Regions from separate parts of the Homo sapiens genome. Here region 1 is linked to region 2. Evidence: promoter capture Hi-C in human tissues and cell types (Jung and others, 2019). All regions are on one chromosome and are shown on one strand. Each heading gives the region's core, a stretch centred on a gene start or on the middle of the fragment in contact. The rest is flanking DNA. Distances are from core to core; before and after follow the strand shown.

The links. Contacts are between HindIII fragments. The study calls those that stand out against the background at their distance.
Region 1: a contact is called between a fragment that was not itself captured here and the fragment with the promoter of EMB in region 2, in 1 of the 25 tissues and cell types used here (H1 embryonic stem cells).

The regions. Positions count from the first base shown.
Region 1 is chr5:50,573,960-50,577,454 of GRCh38, reverse strand. No RefSeq gene overlaps it. Among named protein-coding and RNA genes, the nearest start is that of PARP8, 91 kb to the left of the region's middle. The HindIII fragment of the contact is 3,381 bases long and covers 1-3,205 here.
Region 2 is chr5:50,439,175-50,443,214 of GRCh38, reverse strand. It overlaps EMB (embigin), which reads left to right and starts at 1,927. Exons shown (of 9, transcript NM_198449.3): 1 at 1,927-2,175. The coding sequence starts at 2,064. RefSeq lists silencers at 1,984-2,113, 2,194-2,383. The HindIII fragment of the contact is 6,914 bases long and covers 1-2,950 here.

The DNA.
Region 1 (3,495 bases), core at 266-2,765, 130 kb before region 2:
AAACATTTGATTTTTAAAAGACTTTTTTCTTATAATGTATAGGCCCTGGAAAAAACTTCTGACATTTGGGAAATCTTATTTTAAAACTCCAAATATCTGACAAGATTATTCAAACTCTCCAGTTTCTTTTTCTTCTATATTTTCTATTTGATATCTGTCAAAGCTTAACCAGCCAAAGACTACCCAGCTCAAACCTATAGTTTGACAAAATCAGATTTATTGATTTGCAGGAAAGGGAGCACATTCCAGAGAACCTCAAATGTGCACTCTACAAGATTTGGGTTCCTGCTGGAGGGTTATGAGCAAGCTCTAAGGGAATGGAGAGCATCTCTGGGTTGGATAATCTTTCTGTTGCAAGATTAGGAGAAGTGAGAATTAGCTAGGAACTGAGTACTGTCTTGAGATGAGGGCAGTTTAGCAACTGGATATCCCCAATAACAGATGTGACAAAGCAGGTCTGGGGGTGTCATGGGTAACAAAGCAGTGGTCACTCAAGGAGAGAATCATGATGGCATTTTATAGCTGCTACAAGACCTTGGAAAAAACATTTGCTGTTAACTTTGCAGCTGCCTTTATCCATCTGTCCTCCCTGCCTGATTAACAGCAGGGCTGCCTTTTTCTTTTCAGTCCTTCAGTCACAGAGAGGATTTTACTCGTTCACTTTAATAGAACCAACTTGACTTTATGATTCTCCTATTTGTTAGAGCTTCAGAAGACAGCCATGTCATTTGGTAACCAATCTTATTTTGACAATCCAACAGAAAAAATAGTGTGATTTTTGCACTTGTTATTCAAAATTAAGCTATGAAGACATAGATTAATGACTAGGAAAACTCAGTGTAAGACTGTCTAGAGTTTGGTTTCTAGTTTCAATATAAAGGAGAGAGAGAAATTAAAACCCTGGAGACAAGTTCTAACAGTGGATCAGCTATGTGGCCAGGGCACATGTACATGAAGTATATGAATATGTTTATGTATATTACATATTCATACCAGAATATGTAATATCTTGCATATTCTGCTGTGTAAGAAACAAATGATAAGATTGTGAATGAACATCTCTGAGGGGCTGCTGAAACTGGAACTGGGACAATGCAGAATTGGCACATGAAAGTGTTTACATAACTATTAGATAAAGTCAACATAAAATTCCTAGGTAAGCAAAAAAGCATCTGCCCAAGAAAAGAGCATAGAGAATAATCAAAACAATCTCTAAATGCACATACACTAAAATTAAAGGGTAGAAAACTGAGATGTGGATGAGTGAATTCATTATATAGACAAAGAATCTTATTAAACATTAAGGGAAAGAACTAGAATTACCTTCTGGGAAATGCAGGTGCTCTGGGATACCAACATTTTGAAAGCATAGCTATGTCCACATTTTAGTAGACAAACGATCTTGCAAAGTGAACTACATTATAGAAAAGAGAATAGAAAAGGCAGTAAAGAGAACACAGTGACAATCTGAGTGTGTCATCTTTATAATGTTATGTATTATTTGTGGACATCCTGTTGGTTTGTGGGAGAGAAAAAATATAACAGTTTAATCAGTGATGAAACATGTACAGTCATCTTACGTATGCTTTTATTAGACATTATCAACATTCGTGATTTCTATTTGTAGCATACAGGGAGATTTGTATTTCTCATTGTGAAATATTCTGTTGTAAGAGGGAAAGAAAGAGAGTAGGATAAAGAAAAATGTTCTAGGATTGACTGTTACTGAAATAGTTAAAAAACCTAACTAAGCCCCTGGTGCAATGGTAACATAAGGAATTTGCCTTTTTATGTTTGGATAAACTCAATTTTAAAATAGTGTTTAAAAATAACATTGTTAGCTAATTTGTGATTTATATGCATATAGATAGTATATCGAGTCTAAGAAAACACAAAGCTGAAATATTCTGGTTTAATTCACCTACTCACACTTTTTTTCTTTAACATTAAATGAATATAATTAAAATCAGTGACTTACAGAAAAGTGTGTTAAGACTTATAAGAGGCTGGGTGTTGTGGTGCACACCTATAATCCCAGTACTCTGGGAGGCTGAGGTGGGTGGATCACTTGAGGTCAGGAGTTTGAGACCAGACTGGCCAACATGGCGAAACTTCGTATCTACTAAAAATACAAAAATTCACTGGGCATGGTGGCAGGCACCTATAATTCCAGCGACTCAAGAGACTGAAGCAGGGGAATCACTTGAACCTGGGAGGTGGAGGTTGCAGTGAGCAGAGATCATGCCACTGTACTCCAGCCTGGGTGACAGAGTGAGACTCTGTCACACACACACACACACACACACACACACACACAACTTATAAAGGAAAATATTTTTTAAATACTTGAAATAATTATACTATGAAGAAATATGATTTACTTGTCATAAAGAGCAAATGTTTACACTAAGAAGAGAAAAAATTTCGCTAAACTTTTGTGACATGAACAGACAAACCTGAATTTTTAAAAGATATTCACAAATAAAATATAAGCTAGTTGATTTAGAAAAGGTGACTGCCAAGAATTAGATATGAGCTTTGGCATGTGAGATTGTTGATAAAATTACATTCAATTCATGAAAATGGAAATTTCATATCACTCAGATTAGTAGATAATTTGTAAGTATTCTTTGAATGCTAACTGCATACACAATAATGTGCAAGTTTACCTTTCAGAAGGAAAAAATTTATTGGTTATTTATAATGATACATCCAAAGGTAATCATAAAAATAAAATAAAATAGCATTGACTAATTTTATAAACACTGAAGGAAAACAAAATAGAAGAGTAACCATGGCAAGAGCTAAATGGAACACAATTCTTCCTGATGGCTTAAAACACTTTCTTTTGTGTACTTTCATTTTCTTATTTGCAATGGATTCCTTAGGTATTCATAAAACGTGTTTACAACCTTCCTGGTTTGATATGAGGTTAACTCCTTTATCATGGAATTTTAATATTAATGATAGTTTTGGAAAATACTTCTCTGAAAAGTTATTTTGAGAAGAAAGACTTTCTATGTATAAATATCTAAAACCAGCAATTATAGTGGATCTCAGGGGAAGTTTGAGATCTTTTTCTTCAGAGTAGCTAAAGAGCCTTTCAGCAGCATATCCAAAGAGCCTTTCAGCAGCATGTCTCTGGGGACTGCATTGAGGAGCTGAAATTTCCCTGGAGAATATAATAAGAATAAAGACAAAATTTTTATTTTGGCTTCGGAAGTGACAATACTTCCTTCTGGAGTTTAGAGAATTCAACTTGAATTTAAAGTCGGCCATTTCTTCCCTAACAACGCTTGGATTGCTAAAGGGAGAACAAGTAGAAAGAATACTGAGACATCATAAATATAGCAAAATAAAACAACAACATTTTTTTCTCTCCCACCACCAAATTTTCATTATCATCACAAATATTTAGTATGTTTTTTCTTTTTAAGAAAATCTTTTTTCTTTTTTTTTTTTTTTGGTTTATATCATTAAATATACTGAGTTTTT
Region 2 (4,040 bases), core at 678-3,177:
AATACTCTGAGATGAATTTTGAAAGGTGAATCAGGGATAGAAAAAGTTATATAGGGAAGGCAGTCAATAAGCTTGTTTTAAAGGATATGGAGCATTTGAAAAAGTGGAATGTACATAAGGCTGGAAATATCAAATATCTAAATATAGAACAGGAACAGTGATGAAAAGACTTTCAAAATGCTTAGCAAAATGAGAATTATATTTCTTTCTCAACTCTTTTGTTCCAACAGCAAAAGCAACAGTGGGGATCAGCATCAACTTGGGTAAGTAAGTTTTTCTGGTCATAAATAGGCTGATTCAACTGAAAAAAATGTTTCTTTAAGAAGGGTGAATTTGTGTCTAAGGATTTTATGAGACTAACTGGGAAAAGTCAGTCAGAGTTTAGTTTGAGGTGAGAAGTGCTTACTGTTGACACTCTACCTAATTATAGGGAAATGTGTGCAGTTAGTCCTGAGACCAGATGCAGGGTTGAAAGAAAGAGGTGTGATGTAGCAGCCATTGATTAGGCAATTTGGGTTTAGCAAGCCCAGTCAATGCCCTCAGAGGGTCAACAGTGTATAAGATTTAGTCCTTGAAGGCATCTTTTAAAGTTTCATTCAGAAGATTTTAATAATTTTGACCATAATTTTCTGAGAAGAGGCTTTTCTGAGATTTGTCATTCACAGATAAACAGTTGTCTAATTTGTGTGTGTGTGTGTGTACATGTGTGCATGCGTGCATTTGTGCATGTGTGCCTATCTAGCCTCTTTTGAACACAATGGTAGATTGGCACCTGGTAGATAATATTGTTGAATGAATTGTATTATTCATATTATCTCACTGCCAATTTGAAGAATCTACATTCTGTTTCCAAAGTTTTGTGCATATAATACTAAACCAGAAACAGACGTGTTTTAGTAATACGTACCAATTACAAATTAACCATTCCTGCCTGGAATAAACACAGGTTTTGTTAAATAGCTCAATTTTCAAAATTTGTCTCATGTTATTTCCAATCCTTTTTTTTTTAACGCCGATATATTTTGAATTTACGAATGTGAAAGCTGAACTTCAAAAAAATAAAGGGAGAGGAAACAAAGCTCGTGAAAAATTTTAAAAATATCTTTTAATGCGTTATAACATCCTGGAGAGAAATCAAATCAATGTGTTTCAATGTTACAATATAGATTTCTCCTCCCCTCCCGGATAAAGCACTAATTTATTTAATTTGGTTCAGAGCACTGAATATTCCAAGCTACAGCCTTGTGGGTAAGAGCATTATCTTAAAGAGTGTTCGGATTTAACAAAGGTCAATGTCTTGTGCAGTTTACATAGTATCTACTCTCAGTAGCTTTTGCTTCTTGAGCTCTAGGTGGCTCCTCAGAAGCTGTTAGGCTTAACAAACAAAAATAAAGTAAAATCAGACACGGTATGGGGCCTTGGGACTCTAAAACCTTCATCCGGAGAAAATCAGTTAAGCCTTCAGAGACTAGAAGAGAGAATGTGTGTGATTGGTAGGCAAAGCAAAGAAAGATTAACACAAGTTGTCTGGCAGCTGGATAAAACCTTACACCTGCGCAAAAATAAGCCTCCCTCGTAAGAAAGCCCAAAGATGTCCGGGGTCCGGGAGGAGAAAAGTGTTTCTCATCTGTCCCATCAAAGCAAATTAGTGAAACCTGCCTCAGGTGAAGTGCAAAGGCCAGTCTGTAGGCAGAGTTTCGACCTCTCCCCACGAGATTGGCTAGACATCACCTGCCCAAGCTCTCTCCCGACCTGCTAGAGCCGAGAGGGCGGAGGCCGGAGAGGCTGCAGCCGGGAAGTAGCACCGCCACCGCACATCCGGGAACGCCAGCAGCCGGCTGAGGGCTGCATAACTGATGGAGGGCCGGGCGCGGTAAGAGCGTCTCGGGGGAGTGGGGCAAGGCGGCCGGGCCCCTCCCATTCCGCCTTTTCTTCAGCGTCCTACCCGCGGCACTGGCTGCGAGCGCCGGGCCACCTGCGAGTGTGCGCAGGGACTCTGGACACCCGCGGCGGCGAGCTGAGGGAGCAGTCTCCACGAGGACCCAGGCGGACCCTCTGGCGCCATGCGCGCCCTCCCCGGCCTGCTGGAGGCCAGGGCGCGTACGCCCCGGCTGCTCCTCCTCCAGTGCCTTCTCGCTGCCGCGCGCCCAAGCTCGGCGGACGGCAGTGCCCCAGGTGTGATGGGTACAGGGTCCAGGGTAGGGAGGGCGGAGGGCGCGCGAGGCTCGGGTCCCCGCGGGCAGAGGGCATCGCCGGCGCGCCGGGCAAGGGTGGCGGGGAGAGGCGCGGGGATGCTGGTAAGGGCGGGTGGGAGAGTCGGCGGCGGCCTCCCATTAGCTACGTTTGTGTCACCTAAGCTGAACCCTGAAACTGCTGCGGCTCGCGTTCCTGCGCTCTTTGGGGCGAGTCTTGAACGAACAGCGCCCCGCGAGTCGGGCGCGTAGGTAACAGGGCAGAGTCTGGTTTTTCCTAGGAAGAAGGCAGTGGGGTGTGTGGGTGGTTGCAGGGACCAGCTAGCGACTTGGCTTGGGCAAATATGGCATGAATTTTGAAAGCCACATTTCCCCAAGGCCTACTCCCTTTTCTTGATTCGAGAGTAAGGCTCGAGTATCACCTCCTTCCCTCCTCTTGGCAGGTGGGTTGGCTTTGAGGATTTTTTTTTTTTTTTTTTTTTTTTTTTTGAGACGGAGTTTTACTCTTGTTGCCCAGGCTGGAGTGCAATGGCGTGATCTCGGCTCACCGCAACCTCCTCCTCCCGGGTTCAAGCGATTCTCCTCTGTCAGCCTCCAGAGTAGCTGGGATTACAGGCATGCGCCACCACGCCGGGCTAATTTTATATTTTTAGTAGAGACTGGGCTTCTCCACATTGGTCAGTCTGGTCTCGAACTCCCAACCTGAGGTGATCCGCCCGCTTCGGCCTCCCAAAGTGCTGGGATTACAGGCGTGAGCCACCTCACCTTGCCGAGGATGTTTTTTTAGAGCTGAGTAGGGGAAAAAACATCATAACCAACTAGCCAACCAAAGATCCACAACTTACAGGATAACGTGTGTGTATCTTCATTTTACACCGTGGTCTTTGAAAACAAAATGTGTGTGTGCATGTGTGTGTGTGTATGTGTGAGATTTTTGCTTGTTGTTTTATTGTTTAAGACACTTTGACAGAGGGATTACGTGCAAAACATTAACAAAGCCAACACGAAAGTTGCCATTCTACCTTCACCTGTTTATAATTACTTTTCATATTGAAAGGATTCCATCCAACCTATTGCAAGTTTCTGTGTCATAAATGTTACCAGCCAGTAAGGGTAATAAAAGACCACCTCTCAAGCTGGTAAATATTGGCCACCAGTAACTAAAATTGGGACATTATTCTGCAAAAAGTTTTCAAACTCTCATGGGAATTTATTTTCATGGGCTTGTAAGATGTGGAATTTTTGTAACACACCATAGAGAAGGAAGGATAATCAAAAGGTAAGACTATTAATTTTTATAAATGCCTTTTAAAACGTCTAGTTGTTAACAACTTGGACAGAACATCGTGGGTTCCTTCGCAGATTTCCTTGTGCCACATCTCTTTTCCATAATACCACTTATAAAGAATTGTCCAGGCCTGTAATCCCAGCACTTTTGGGCGCTGAGGTGGGAGGATGGCTGGAATCCAGGAGTTCAAGACCACCCCGGGCAACATAGCAAGGTCCCTTCTTTATTAAAAAAAAAAAAAAAAAAATTAAAAGTGCGGTTGTGGTGATGTACACCAGTAGTCCCAGGTGCTTGGGATGCCAAGGCAGAAAGATTGCTTCAGTCCAAAGTTTGAGGCTGCAGTGAGCTATGATGGTGATGGTGCCACTAAGCTCCAGCCTGGGTGACAGTGCAAAACTGTCTCAAAAAAAAAGAAAGAAAAAGAAACAGAATTGTCCAGGACATTTTTCCCCCTTCTGGGTATCTCCAATTCTTCTATCCCTGGTTCACCTCAGAGTATTGCAGTTCTGAGAACCAGTGCATTCTGGATTCATTGTAGAACTTTGATTCTCTACTTGACT